Regions from separate parts of the Homo sapiens genome. Here region 2 is linked to region 1. Evidence: promoter capture Hi-C in 16 types of primary human blood cells and fetal thymus (Javierre and others, 2016). All regions are on one chromosome and are shown on one strand. Each heading gives the region's core, a stretch centred on a gene start or on the middle of the fragment in contact. The rest is flanking DNA. Distances are from core to core; before and after follow the strand shown. Region 1 holds the start of MAP3K7 (mitogen-activated protein kinase kinase kinase 7). Region 2 overlaps BACH2 (BACH transcriptional regulator 2).

Region 1 (7,695 bases), core at 1,482-3,981:
TCCATTAAAATAGGTCCCAGATATCCCTACACCCAAAATGAGCCAAATAAGATCAGAATCTCATTTAGAACAAGCAAAGAGGTGGTGGGAAATGGATTTTGAAACCCTTGTCCTCTCAACCCCTGGAGAGTATAAAAGGGCCAAAATTGAAGACAGAGTTGGAAGTTAGAGAGTAGTTATTAGGGTGCTGACATGAGGGAGAATGGTGGAGGGTGCTCAAACTCGGAGGGACTTCAAGGAATTTACTTAAATAGTTTTGATATGTATCCGGAAACGTGTGGAGACACACAGACTGGTGACTGAAGTTGACATGAAATTCTGAGGTCAAGTTTCTATCCTTAATTCATGAAAGTTAAAGGAAATGCAAAGTCAAAATTGAAGTGAACTGAGAGAGGTTCAGCTCCCCTCCATCATTCCTCTGCATTTAAACTTTATTACTTAGGATTATTTGGTTACAAGTGACAAAAATACAACTTGGACCAGCTTAAATGAAATGGTAATTTACTAGCTCACATAACCAAATCACAGAATGTAAGAGATGGATTGGACCTTGGGAATGACTGAACCCAGAGACATAAACACTGATGAAACTTTCCATCTATTACTAGAAGCTAGGGAAAAGGCGCAGGCAGACAAAAAAGAAAAAAGTAATCTGCAAGCAAGTTGGACAAAAATTGATTTTAGACTGGCATCAATATTAGAAGTCCAAATCAGTGGATAAAACATAGAAGTGTTGGGGTAGAAGATATTCAAAATCATGTAATCAATTCACTTTGAAATGCATCTAGCAAAATGGTAGATGGATGTAAATATGGATGGAGAGATGAGATGCACATATGTATATTATGATAAAGCAAGTATAGTAAAATGTTAAAGGTAGAATCCTGGTGGTGGGCATATAGGTGTTCACCATAAATTCTTTCAACTTTTCTCTATATTTGACATTTTTGTAACAAAATTTTGGGGGGAAAAATCAAGCAGGAGAACTGCATCATGGCTGTGGTAATTAATTAGTCCTTTGTCAAGATTCCAGTCCTAAACTGAAGGTACAGGAAACATATCTTACACTCCAGGGAAAGGGAGGACTGACAAAAGCTATTCATTTGTACAGAATATCTAAGTATTTATTGAGTTCCCACCTGGCAGCAAGATCAAGGTGTTAAAAGGAAATCGGATATAGACCTGCAGAGTTATAGCACAAGGTAAGAAGTGACCATCCTTGTTTGGAAATGCAAGGGGAATGACAGGTGAAAATGACTGTCCCACTGATTATATCAGCTTCTACTGGGTATCAGTGCACCACGCATCATTTCACATGCCCTGATTTCTCACTTGGACAACCAACTGGGTGATGGCATCCTTAAGTGACATAGGAAAATAACATAGGAATATATTTGTGGTGGGTGACAACTTTTGAATTTGCTGTGGTATCTTGAAGTTTAGGTGTTTGTCTAAGTAGAGATGACCAATAGGTCCAGAATTCAGGAAAAATCTTGAGTATTTGGAGATTAGGAGTCATCATTATAAAAATAGTATGAGAAACAGAGACCTTGGGTAAGAGCATGCAAAGAGAGAGTGTACAGTGAAAAGAAATTATCGTTTCTTTCATTTTTTTATCCACTCATCAAACTGTCACTGCGTGTCACTAGAACTACGAATAAAAAGTGACAGAATGTTTCCCAGGAGTTTGTAACTTCTTGATGGTCAAATCCAATGATCTATTTGCAATCCCAAATGTGTTTAACATAATTCCACAGTTAGGCTTTATGTCAAACGGACTATATAAAATTCAACAGTTAGTTTAAAACTAAAACTTGTGCTGGTAGTACAACATGAGCAATACTGACCATCTTGGGGACAGAATGATCTAGTTTGTGAGGACCATAATTGCTTTAAACTCTCAGCGTGTTTTCTCATGTCCTGAAAATGGTGACAAAAATATTCGATTTTCAAGGCGACTGTTGATGATTCATTTACCAATCTAAAGCACTAGTGCCCCGCACTCGTAATCCATAACTTGAGATGAACACACCAAATTATAAATATCTTATTCACCTAATCCGTGGAAAGTTTGTAACACCAAAATATTAACTTCTGTTCTTGATCACTCAGCCTCCATAGTTATTCATGTTGCATGATCTGATTCGCTCTTTTAGAATTTCTCATAGCGTCAGGTACTAGCTCAAAATAACAGGAGCAACTGCTTCTTTCCATATCCCACATTGAGGAAAACACATTTTGCAAGCCGTCTTAAAGAAACAGGTCAACTTAGTTTAGGGATGAAACTTAAAAGTAAGCTTCGTCACAAAAAACACAGTTCAACACCACCTCGCCCGGCTGCAGGCAGCTCAGAGGACAGGAAGTGAGGCCAAGACATATTTCACGCAGCACAGACTAAACCCCAGCTTTTATCTTTCCCGCTGGTCCTTAAGGGACCAACCGTACTGATTTTCCGTCATGTTCCGCGCCACTTCCGTTCGCGCACTTTAATTACGTCAGGCGTCCTCTCTCGCGGTATCATCCGGTTGCTGAGGCCCTGTAATAAAGGTCTCGCGAAATTTGTTCTAGAGGTCCAAGTTTGCTTCTTAGCTTACTCCACCCCACCCCCAACCTGTCCCTCCTTTTCTTTCCAAGTCACAAAATTCTCCCCTCCCCTACCCCGGAGTTTACGGCCCTCCTCCTGTTTCCGATTTCAGCCCGGAACCGGAAGTGTAGTGGGCGGGGCCCGTCGGCGGAAAACGCAGCGGAGCCAGAGCCGGACACGGCTGTGGCCGCTGCCTCTACCCCCGCCACGGATCGCCGGGTAGTAGGACTGCGCGGCTCCAGGCTGAGGGTCGGTCCGGAGGCGGGTGGGCGCGGGTCTCACCCGGATTGTCCGGGTGGCACCGTTCCCGGCCCCACCGGGCGCCGCGAGGGATCATGTCTACAGCCTCTGCCGCCTCCTCCTCCTCCTCGTCTTCGGCCGGTGAGATGATCGAAGCCCCTTCCCAGGTCCTCAACTTTGAAGAGATCGACTACAAGGAGATCGAGGTGGAAGAGGTGAGCGAGGCCCGGCATGGAGACGCCGGTCCCGGCCTGCCCCGCCCCCGCCTCTGCCTGGTGCCGGCTCTGAAGGTGCCTCCCGGGGCCCCTCTAATTCGCGGGACCCTGCGGGGTCCACCCGGGAGACCCCACAGCCCTCAGTAACGTGGGAGTGGGGGTTACTCTCTGAGCTCAACTGCTCGGGAGTAGCTGCCTTTTTTCCTCTCTTGGGTACTCTTGATTTTGGATTTGATATTCCGGTGATAAACAGGAGAATGAACTGGTGAGATAGTGTGGTCCACCAGTTCTCGTATCTGTAAGTAGTAGTTTCAGCGAAGATCGTAGCCGTTCTGGAGTTTCAGTCCGCTGGACGTAATGTTCTTTTTTTTTTTTTTTTTTTTTTGAGACGGAGTCTCGCTCTGTCGCCCAGGCCGGACTGCGGACTGCAGTGGCGCAATCTCGGCTCACTGCAAGCTCCGCTTCCCGGGTTCACGCCATTCTCCTGCCTCAGCCTCCCGAGTAGCTGGGACTACAGGCGCCCGCCACCGCGCCTGGCTAATTTTTTGTATTTTTAGTAGAGACGGGGTTTCACCTTGTTAGCCAGGATGGTCTCGATCTCCTGACCTCATGATCCACCCGCCTCGGCCTCCCAAAGTGCTGGGATTACAGGCGTGAGCCACCGGGCCCGGCCGGACGTAATGTTCTTAATGGCCAAAGATTGTATTATATTCGACTTCTACTTCAGTACCTGGCATGTAGGGGATGCTCAATAAATGCTTGTTAAATTAGTAGATCATCAAGTCTAATAAAGTGTTTCCCTTAGCACCGAATGGTTCTCAATTTCTCCGATACCGCACAGCAATACTCGTAATGTTTAAATGCTCGGCTTTCAGTTGGGCTAATGTAGGTGAATTTCACCATAAGTAACATAGACTGGTCTACGATCAAAAGATGTTTCAAGTAGCATATTCTGAAGAGATAACGAATGATTTCGGTGACAATCAGAATATAATATTAGACTAGAAATCGCTATCAGAAAACCCATATCCTTTCTTTATTCTGCAGTAATTTATTTTAGAACAAGATATTTCAAAGTGACTTTAAAGCGTCGTTTTTCAAATTAACAGGTAAATTGGGTTCTAATGACTATAAAATTTAGAAAAGTAAAAACTGCATATATATTTTTTAAAGACACTTTAGAACTTGTTAAAAACTTTGGTTGAAAATACTATCTCTTACCATTTATTTGCCATTTTTTAAATTTATTAAGCACTTTGCGTTATATAGTCCATGAAAAACCTAGTGAAATATTATAGATTGTCAACGAGTTATGTCTACTTTAAAATTCTAAAATTATTTTTAAGTGTCAGCAAGTTCAAAGTAGTGAGATAACGTTCAACAAATAAATTTTTTTTCCTGTGCATGTTTTGGAAGAGTAATGGATTACTGAATTATATATGTTTTATCACATAAAGTAACTTTAGAGATTATTGAGAATATCCTCATTTTACAAGATAATATGGTGGAAAGAGCAAGGTCTTTGGAGTTAGAGGAAAGTTCAGTGTATCAGATATGCCATTTATTAGCTGTGTGATTTGGGGCAAGTTTCCTAACCCCTTTGAATTTTAGTTTACTCTAAGAAAGGGCTAATAAATTCTGTTTCATTTTATCTGCATAACAGATCTTAGTAGACATTATATGCAAAACACCTACCACAGGGCCTGACACATATTAGGAAACCTAGTTCCAGAGAGGAAATGTGACCTGCTTTAAGGTCATATGGCTAAAAGAAGACCTGTATTTTGAAAAGAGGGGGAAATGTTTTTAGTTTCTTTTTTTTTACATTGAGGCTATGATAAATTCCTTTTCCAGAAGTGGATAGTTGATGCAGCTTTCATGGCTAATATTCTTTTTTAAGAATAAAAATTCAGTGAGTCAGTATACAAGAATTGCAGTTTTTAAATAAGCGTTTACGTCTGCTCTGTGGTGAATTGCTATGCTTGTAGACTACAAATTGTTATATAATAATAACTTGTGCTTTATGGTCTACTAAATGCTTTCACAAACTTACTTCATTTGGTTCTTACAACCTTAGTTTTTGAATGCTACTTTCTAAAGCTTTTTACATTCTTGATTCAGGGAAAAACAAATTACTAAGGAGGTAGTTATCATTTTGATGTTCTTCCCCTAAAGCTATTTCGCTTCTGGTTAGGTTTCTGTGTTTCCAAGACCCTTCTCTCAGTTTAGATAATGTTTCAATCTTTGTGTGTATGTGGGTGTGTGTGTGTTTAGGAAATTTCTGGGAGTAGGTTTTTGTTTTTAGATGAAAATTTGTTTCTAATATCAGGCAGTCATTTGGGTTTTTTGTTTGTTTTATTCCCTTTCATGTTTAATACTTAGTTCATTTTTGCATTAAAGATTGAATTTGGACCTTTCTGATATTGAAAGCATTACATAATTTCCATCATCTTCTTCATTTGCATACATTAAACCAGTGTTACACAATCCAGGGTGAACCATGAACACTTATTAGCTATTTGTCAACTTAGATTACACTTCCAGTTCAATTGTAAGATAAACAGAGGAAGATGACCAGAAACAAAAACTATTTTATGTTGCTTCCAATATTTTATATTGTATGAGAATATTACCTTCTAAATTAAGAAAATCATGTATTTCTCAATGTAATTGAATTGTATTATATCAATATAATTAGAAACTGTAAAAAAAATAATAATTCAACTACAGGCCAAATATGCAGCCATTTAGTAGATACATATTTCTAAGACATTAGCTGATCTTGCATTTCTAATATTGTAACTCAGTAGTATTAGTTTGGCACATCTTAGATTCAATTCAATTCAGTCAAATTAGGTAAGGTCTCAGCCTCAGAAATCTGCCTAGGTACTTTTTAAACATCATTTAGTGTTTACCATCTAGAACTGGCTGTAGAGAATGTTGGAATAAAAGAGGGGATGGGTTGCAAGAAGTGTTACACAGGGTAGTATAGTGGAAAGTGTTCTGGACTGAAAAAGAAAATTTAGATGCTGTACTGATTCTGCCATAATATATTTTTGTAACTTTGAGGAAGTCACCACATTTTTCTGGGCCTGTGGTTACTCATGTAAACTGACTGAACAAGATCATTTAAGGTCTTTTCCAGTTCTAAAATGAAAACACATTCATGTTTTCCAGTATTTAACTGTTTTCTATAGTAAGCTTAGCAGTTCTTTAAAGACTGATCATGGTCTCCTATAGAATTCAGTTGGTGACCAACTAATCCTGGGTTGACAGGGCAAATGATATCCCATTGTACAGATATTGACAAGCAGTCATAGAGTTTGACTTGCCAGAAGCCGCATGCCTAAGTAAATGGTAAAGCTGGGAATTGAATATGAGACTTCTCACTTGTGAGTCAGTTGCCCTTTCCACTGGATTTACAGTGTCACTCAGTACTTTCTGAAGTACTCTATAACCAAACCTAATATGGGAAAGGGGAAACAAAATACTGATTTCCTTTTTAGTGTAGTTGGTCCTGAGCATTTAATGAACATTCTCATCTGTGCGTAATACTCTGAGGTACTATAAAAGATAAATAGGGCTTGGTGCGGTGGCTCACACCTGTAATCCGAGCACTTTGGAGGGCCAGTGCGGGCAGATCACTTGAAGCCAGGAGTTCAAGACCACCCTGGCCAACACGGAGAAACCCCGTCACTACTGAAAGTACAAAAATTAGCTGGGTGTGGTGGCACAGGCCTGTAATCCCAGCTACTTGAGTGGCTGAGGCATGAGAATCGTTTGAACCCAGGAGGCAGAGGTTGCAGTGAGCTGAGATCATGCCACCGCACCCTAGCCTGGACAACAGAGGGAGACTCTGTCTCAAAAAAAAAAAAAAAAAAAAGATGATAGAAGAATCCTAGGATTACCTCCTTAAAATGTCTGACTTAGTATGATATCAGACTGGAGTAAACACAGAACAGTTAACTATAGACCACAAATTTAAAACTGAATATAGTGTAAATTAAACACTTAAGCCATAATTTGAAAATAGAGTTAATCACAGAAGGTTCCATTGAGTAGGGACAAGTTTAAAACTAGGTTTTGAATAAAGTGACCATCGTGGGTTGGGAAAGTCACTAAGATGAATTTTCTTTGTAGTTGTTCCTCTGCCTAAAGCGCTGTTCCCCCATAACTTAAGATGACTGACTCCTCACCAGTCAAGTCCCACCTCAAATGTTATTAACACTTCCTTAGAGAAGCATTCCCTGAACAACCTAGATCTTTTGTCATTTCTATTATCTTTCATGGTACTTACCAGTAACTGAAATTGTGTCTCTCCTTCAGCAAAATGTAAGGCGCTTTATTCACTTTTGTAACCCCAATGCCTAGAACCTAGAAGGTTCTCTATACATATTTGTTCAATGAGTACATGAAAGTATCACAGCATAATCATAAGAATTAAATGCCCATCTTGTTCTCTTATATTACATGTGATAAAATAGGAGCTGAGTTATGCGATTTGGCTAAGGCAACACGTTAGAAATGAGATCCGAGTCTTGTTTTAATGTCGACTCTATTATAGTTAGCAGATACTTTTGTTTAGCAGGGATAAAAAATGCTGTAAAGGGCCAGATGCTATGAGTAAGCCACGTATGGTAGGTCTTTACTACAGAG
Region 2 (7,818 bases), core at 1,210-3,709, 660 kb after region 1:
CTTCTCAGTGTATGCAAGGGGCTGCAGCCCCTCTTCTCTTCCTCCCCAGGTTGAACAATACGGACAGTTTTCACACATATCTACCTGTATAACCCTCTGTACCTCTCATAACTGGTCAACGACTGTAACAGGTTACATCAGGTGTTTTTCTACATACTTTTTACACAGATTCTATGCGATTAATGTAATTTAATTCAATGCATCATTTTATTGTACTAGTTCTTAGGCTTGTCCTTATTTTTTTCTAAGTGATTGTGGTTTTTCTCGTGGTTTTTATTGTAAAAAATGAAAGGCTGTTGATGCTTATTCTCTGTAACTAAGAATTTTTACCTTTTGGGGGAAAAAAGCATTGCTATGAACTAATGAATTGAAACTTCATTTACTCATTGTAAATACACTATTGTGCAAAAAAAGTTTTCACTCAATTGAATTGCTAGTGTTAACTGAATTTTGTCTAGACACCATTTCTGTTGATGAAATAAAGACATATCATTATGCATTGTAAACTGATTTTCTCTGCCTCTGATCCCTATGTTCCAAATTACAGAGTGAGAAACCTCAGGAAATCTTTTTTCCTAGAGGCCATTTCTCTTCCTCTAGTTTGGACCCTTACTTGCTACCTGATTAATCTGATTAGGAATCTTTAAAATTGGATAATATTAATGTGATTCCTAAACTCTGAATTTTAAAAATCCCTAGTGCCTGTGAGAGTAGATAAAAGGCTTTAAACCCAATTTCTCGGTTTTGATATTGTGCTATCGCTATGCAGAATGTTACCACGGGAGAAAACTGGGTGATGGGTATCATTTCTTGCAACTGCATGTGAATCTGCAATTATATCCAAAATAGGCTGAATTTTTTAAAAACTAAATGAAAGTAAATGAGAAAGAACATTAAGCCAACACCAAGATGCAGTGAGTTGCAAGGAAAGATGTTTAGAATTGTGGTTGAGGAATCCATACAGTCATGCATTGGTTAGTGAAGGGGGTACGTTGTGAGAAATGCATCCTTACGCAATTTCCTATTGTGAGAACATCAGGGTGTGCCACACCAACCTAGATGAGAAAGCCTATGACACACCTAGACTAGATGTTCCTAGATTGCAAACTTGTGCAGCATGTAACTGTACTGGATATGGTAGGCAATTGTAACACCAGGGTAAGTAGTTGTGTATCTTAACATAGAAAAGTTGCAGTAAAAATAGGGTTTACAATCTTATGGAACCGCTGTCATATATTCGTCCCATCATTGACCAAAACATGGTTATGCCATGCATGACTGTACAGTTTAAAAGTTGTATTCTAAAAGTGTATTTGATAGTTATGTCTTCGATTTTGATGTAAAGAGAAAACAAGATATCAAATGGTGGGCAGGTCGAGTGACCATGAGCGAACACTGGACTGGAGCTCGGAGGTGAGAGAAAGCCACTAGAGCAGAGCAGGGGGGTCTGAGCTGTCAGCGAGGCTGTAACCAGTGCATGCGCATGGTATCCGGGCAGGGCAGGGCTGTGCTGCCGAGATTCACGCTTCAAGGAGTGCATGCGACCGCCAGATGGGAAAACGGAAATTAAAAACTGCCAAGTTCTGCTCCCTCGGGCGAGTCTCCATGGGCACCTATGGAGTCAAGGAAGGCTTCCTGAGAGCAGGTCATGGGTTTTGCAAATGTGTGCTGCTGTGACAACGTCGCAGTCATAACATTTTCGGTACAAGAGGCGGATTACCTACGCCTGAAGATGTGAAGTTAATCCACTCTGAGAAAAACAGGTGGGTCAGAGTCCCAAAATTTTCTGTGGGAAAACCTGGTAATTTAGAACTGATGGTCATGTGCACCTTCAACCCTGACATCTGCTCTTGTGATACAAATAATGGTCATGCATTGAAGGAAAATAAACCTCACCAGCTGTTGCGTCCTGCAAAACAGGCGTCCCCGACCCCTGGGCCGCAGACTGGTTCCGGTCCATGACCTGTTAGGAACAGGCCGCACAGCAAGAGGTGAGCAGCTGGGGAGTGAACATTACTGCCTGAGCTCCACCTCCTGCCCCATCAGCGGTGGCACTGGATTCCCATAGGAGCGCGAACCCTACTGTGAACGGTGCATGTGCGGGATCTGGGTTGCAGCTCCTTATGAGACTCTAATGCCTGATGATCTGAGGTGGAACGGTGTCATCCCGAAAACATCCCCCCACCCCCGCTGCCTCTGGTCCGTGGAAAATTTGTCTTCCACGATACCAGTCCCTGGTGCCAAAAAGGTTGGGAATCGCGGCTACAAAAGAGCTTTTAAGCACTGTCCAGCCCCAGGTGGACAGCAGCCATTTTCTTTCCTACTTTACATGTGCTTCTTATGGGAAATTTGTATCTGCCTCTGGGGCAGTGAGGACAGGTTCCTTCTACACCAGGCCCTGCCAGCAGTTTTGTTGTATGTATTTGGAAATAACTGAGCTGTTCTTTGAAATCATTTTAGAGTCTTTCACTCTTCTCCAACCCACCACCTCACCCAACTCTGCCCCACCACTTGGGATGCATTAGCAAGATTGTACTTAATGTTTAACAGCAGCTGGTGAAGGTGCCGTGAGCAGAAATGGGTTTCCAATTCTCCTCACTGAGCACCTATGCCTTCGTGGTACAAGTGAACACAATACTTCCTGGTGTCAAAAAATCAAGGCCCAAAGAGATGGAGAAAGCCACACATCCCATTACGCAAGTGTCTTTCATTTCACTCAAGAGCATGACGCCTTCTGTCTCCACACCCGTCCCTGGTTCCTGCAGATCCTGACACACATCTGCCACTGGCCTGCTTAGCCACAAAGAGGCATTGCTGATTCTCCATGGCTAGTTCTTACTCTTTCTTCTTGAAGATAAGTGCATCCCTGAGACAGTGCCCTTCATCCCGAAGCAGTGAATGGAAACCTTCAGAGACATGCTAGCAGTCACTGGAAACATTACATTTTACACTGGGCCCTTCAGACTTTGTTTTTTCTTCTTTGTAGAGACAAGGCCTTGCTATGTTGCCCAGGCTGGAGTGCAATGGCTATTCACAGGCATCATCATAGTGCGCCGCAGCTGTGAACTCCTGGCCGCAAGAATCCTCTCACCTCGGCCTCCCAAGTAGCTGGGACTACAGGTGGGCCACCAGGCCCAGCTCAAACTTGTTTTTGTTGTTGTGTTGTTTTGAGACGTGCTCTGTTGCCAGGCTGGAGTGCAGTGGTCCAATCTTGGCTCACTGCAACTTCCGTCTCCCAAGTTCATGCGATTGTCCTGCCTCAGCCTCCCAAGTAGCTGGGACTACAGGCGCACACCACCACACCCAGCTAATTTTTGTATTTTTAGTAGAGACGTGGTTTCGCCATGTTGGCCAGGATGGTCTCGCTCTCTTGGCCTCATGATCCCCACACCTCGGCCTCCCAAAGTTCTGGGATTACAGGCGTGAGCCACCACACCCAGCCTCAAACTTGTTTTTTAAAACCTCCATTTGTGCTGTGTTTTTGACAACCCTGTAAAGACTTTTCAGAGTGAAAGAAATTGAAATTACAAAAAAAGTTGCCATAGAGGCCTCTGAAACCTATTGACAAACTTATTGACACAACATGACAGAAAGTGAATAAGAAATAAAGACTGGAAAATTGGAAGCAATGGGTAAGGTATTGCCTTTGGTGTTTATACATAAATATATATTTATTCAACCAACACTGTGTTACATGCTAAGCATCCAAGATGTCAAATACCTTACCCTTACAGCTTTCACAGGCTAGTTGGGCAGAGAGATGTACAAATAAATCATTGCCCAGGGGCTGCTGACTTTTACAGAAAGGAGAACAAGGATTTCTGAAAGGACTGTGGGCCTCAGAGCAGCTGGATATGGATTTGAATTCCAGCAGGCACTTCAGCCGTGTAATCTTTAACTGTGGAGAAAATCTCTTTGAGCCTTGTCTGATCTATAAGATGAAAATGAACAATAACAACTTGACAAGTTGTACAAGGTATAGATAATGTGAGCACGTGGAATATAGTATGCCCCTTAAAAAGGCACATTTTGGGGGCCGGTCATGGTAGCTCACACCTGTAATCTATGTAAGTGCTATGGGGGCGCTGAGGCAGGAGGATCACTTGCAGCCAGGAGTTCCAGACTAGCCTGGGCAACATAGCAAGTCCTCATTTTTACAAAAAAAAAAAATTGTTTTTAATTAGCTGGGAGTGGTGGTGCACCTCTATAGTGCCAGTTAGTGGGAAGGCTGAGGTAGGAGAATTGCTTGAACCCGGGAGGCAGAGGTTGCAGTGAGCCAAGATCACACCACTGCACTCTAGCCTGGGCAACAGAGCGAGACCTGTCTTTTAAAAAAAACAAAAACAAAAACAAAAACCCTATCATCTACCCCCCCACCGTTACTATAATTACAGGGCTGCCACAAAGAAAGGCATGGTGAGTGAATGGGGTTGGCCGAGAAGATATGTTGGAACTGCCTCCATAAAAATAATGAGTCCCCAAAAGGCAGCCACAGGATAGGTGGACACTGTCCAGCAGCAGACTGCTGGGTGGGCAACAGCAGGTAGGAGCGGCAGAGCTGCCACAGCTGGGCTACAAGTGAGAAGCGGGGAATGAGGTCAGAGGCAGGGGCCAGTGCCTGAATTTCCTGTGGCTTTTATCTCATAGGACATAGATGATGCCGAGCCTTATAACTTTCAACCAAATTGATTCTCCTTATAACCTGAAGCCTTTATTATCAAGTGTGTGGCCAGGGTTGGGGGCCACTCTGGCCATGGGGTGGAGGACGGGGAAGCTAAGAGGCTCTTTCCATGGGAATTGAGTCCACCTTTATGGCTCTAAAAACTCAGGGTTGGGCGCAGTGGCTCACGCCTGTAATCCCAGCACTTTGGGAAGCCGAGATGGGCGGATCACCCGAGGTCAGGAGTTCAAGACCAGCCTCGCTACCACAAGGCTAAAAATACAAAAACACAAAAATTAGCCGGGCTTGGTGGTGGGCACCTGTAATCCCCGCTACTTGGGAGGCTGAGGCAGGAGAATGGCTTGAACCCAGGAGGCGGAGGTTGCAGTGAGCCAAGATCGGCCAAGTAGCAACCCGCGGAGCAGCCTCATGGGTTGGCCAGTCAGTGCACATCACAGAGCACTCTCCCGGATGACTCAGGACCACTCGGAGGGCGGGCAGGGTGAGGAAGAGGTGCTGGCTTCTACCACTCCCAGGAAGCTCCTGCAGGGGCACAATCATGGCATCACCACTACTCATGAATCATCCCAGAGGGATACAAAAAAGGCATGCGAGTGTTTGCCAGTGTTTTAATCAATATTTTATTTCCATGCCATTGATGAATTAAAAATCCAACTGGTTCATCCTCAAGAAATGAACTGGTGAGAGGAAAAGCCTGAAAAGTTTCTTGTCAACCTCTCCTTTATAGACAGGAAGCACATCTGACCTCAGGCTGAGCACAAAGCTCCAGTCCTGCTCTGGACCCATGTTTAAGGGGCCAACTGCTACTGTTGCTGCCACTGCAGAGCTGGGGTACTGTCTTGCAAAATATCCCACTAGGCTGTGCTGGGACTGGGGAAGAGGTGACATATACCAATCCTCCTCCTCGAGGCAGAGCCGCTCTTGTCCCTAGATCTCCTCTGACGGTGTACAGCTCCTCCCTGCCCGAGCATCAGACCTCCCTCAAGCAGTGTGCCCAGGCAGGGTGAGAACCTGTCCCCAGCCCCCATAAGGGAAGGGTCTCCTGTGGAAGTGAGCCCAGGCTGGGAGCACCCTGAACAGGGCCCTTCGCCTGGTGGGTGTCTGTAGAGGGTGTGGGTCCCAAAGCGCTTCCTGCAGTTTGAGCTGACAAAGGCACAACTCTCCTCCTGCAGGTACCAGCTGCTCCTGATGCATTATTTTTTCATAATAGATGAAAGTTCTAGAAGCATGTTCTGAAAGAGATAGGAAACCAAAAAACAAAACAGACTCAAACAACTTGTAAGAGTCAGCCCTACCCACCCACCTGGGATTCTATATATGTCAAAAATCCTGGGGATCAAAGAGCTGCTGCAGACGGCAGCTGTCCCTGTGTTTCCCCACAGGTGAACGTCCATGTAAGAGGTGGTGCTCAATAGCATTACAGTGAAAACTCTGGATCCTTCCTGCTGCCTCCTCTGCCTGTTGTGGTTTTTGTTGTTTTGTGCAAAAATTCAGGCCTAAAACTAAAAAGTCAATTTGTTCCTAAGCTTCATCTTAGTCCCCTGAAAATTAGCCGGATTTTTTTGACTTTACATAATATGGAAAGCGAAAACTAATTCAAATACAGAATTGTCTATTTTATAACAGTCTATCTCTGATGCTAAAAATATGCTAAACTCAGGAGGCCATGTGCCGGGAGAGCAAGGGGCAGCCATGGGTGTAGGAACAGGAGCTTGGGTTGAGTCAGACGCTGAGGGTCCAATTCCAGCTCACTTGCTCATCCAATAAATATCAATTCATCCCCTGCTTTGTCCCAAGGACTGTGTTTCACACAACCTAATTGTGTGACTTAGGACAAGTCACCATTTTTTTTTTTTTTTTTGAGACGGAGTCTCGCTCAGTCGCTAGGCTGGAGTATAGTGGCGTGATCTCGGCTCGCTGCAACCTCCGCCTCCCGGGTTCAAGTGATTCTCCTGCCTCAACCTCCGGAGTAGCTGGGACTACAGGCGCGCACCACCACACCCAGCTAAGTTTTGTATTTTTAGTAGAGACGGGGTTTCACCATGTTGGCCAGGATGGTCTTGATCTGTTGACATCGTGATCCGCCCGCTTCGGCCTCCCAAAGTGCAGGGATTACATGCGTGAGCCTCCGTGCCTGGCCGCAAGTCACCTATTTCCTTATCTGTAAAATGGAAATTAGCACGTGGCTACAGAGAGGAAGTCCACAGTGTGTCCAGACTATGATCCAGCCCTCAATAAAGTGGTGTCCTTCCTCATCTTCTTCACATTCTTTGGTAATTGTTAAATTGTGTAAAACTTCTCAGCCAAAAGGTTCAATAAATTATAACAATCCACCCTCCAAATATCCACCTCATAATCCTTGTTAATAATGTTGAGTTGGGCTGGGCACAGTGGCTCATGCCTGTAATCCCAGAACTTTGGAAGGCCGAGGCAGGAGGATCGTTTGAGCCCTGGAGTTCAAAGCTGCAGTGAATGAGGCCACTGCACTCCAGCCTGGGGGACAGAGTGAGATCCTATCTCTAAAAAAATTAAAGTAAAATAAATAATAATGTTGAGTTGAAAAATACCTTCCCAAACGAGACAAAGAACCTAGAAGGCAAAGAGATTTTTCATACTAAATATAAAATTACAAGTTTAAAGATGTCATAAACAGGGAAAAAAGACAAGCAGACTGGGAAAAAAGATCTTTCAATGTCTATATAGACAAGAGGTTAATATAATACCATACAAGAGCTCCTAGAAATCAGAAGAACAATAAATATCCCAACAGAAAAATAAACAATGACAATTCATGGTAGAAATACAGATAGCCAATAAACATATGAACGACCTTAGTAGTAATCACAGAAATGTAAAATAAAACAAAGAGAAATATTTTTAGTTCATCAGATGGGGAAGGGAGTAAGATAATGTCTGCTGTTGGCAAGAGTATGAGAAAATGGGTGCTATGCTGGTGAGAGGTTAGTTGGAATAGCCCTTCCTGAGCAAAAATTGGCAGCATGTATCAAAACGAAATGTAGCCAGGTCTGGTGGCTCATGCCTGTATTCCCAGTGCTTTGGGAGACCAAAGTGAGAGGACAGCTTGGGCCCAGGAAGTCGAGACTACAGTGAACTATGATTGCACCACTGCACTCCAG

Evidence for each region. The method cuts DNA at HindIII sites, captures the fragments that hold promoters and counts their contacts. A CHiCAGO score of 5 or more calls a contact.
Region 2: a contact is called between a fragment that was not itself captured here and the fragment with the promoter of MAP3K7 in region 1, in 5 of 17 cell types (M0 macrophages, M1 macrophages, monocytes and 2 more). The highest score is 10.5, in M0 macrophages.

Annotation. Positions count from the first base shown.
Region 1 is chr6:90,582,108-90,589,802 of GRCh38, reverse strand. MAP3K7 (mitogen-activated protein kinase kinase kinase 7) reads left to right here and starts at 2,731. Exons shown (of 17, transcript NM_145331.3): 1 at 2,731-3,039. The coding sequence starts at 2,920. LOC124901363 (a long non-coding RNA gene) reads right to left here and starts at 3,009. Exons shown (of 2, transcript XR_007059680.1): 1 at 1,848-3,009. RefSeq lists silencers at 2,599-2,795, 2,792-2,911. The HindIII fragment of the contact is 2,842 bases long and covers 2,300-5,141 here.
Region 2 is chr6:89,919,220-89,927,037 of GRCh38, reverse strand. BACH2 (BACH transcriptional regulator 2) reads left to right here. Exons shown (of 9, transcript NM_021813.4): 9 at 1-510. Among named protein-coding and RNA genes, the nearest start is that of GJA10, 29 kb to the right of the region's middle. The HindIII fragment of the contact is 7,500 bases long and covers 1-6,209 here.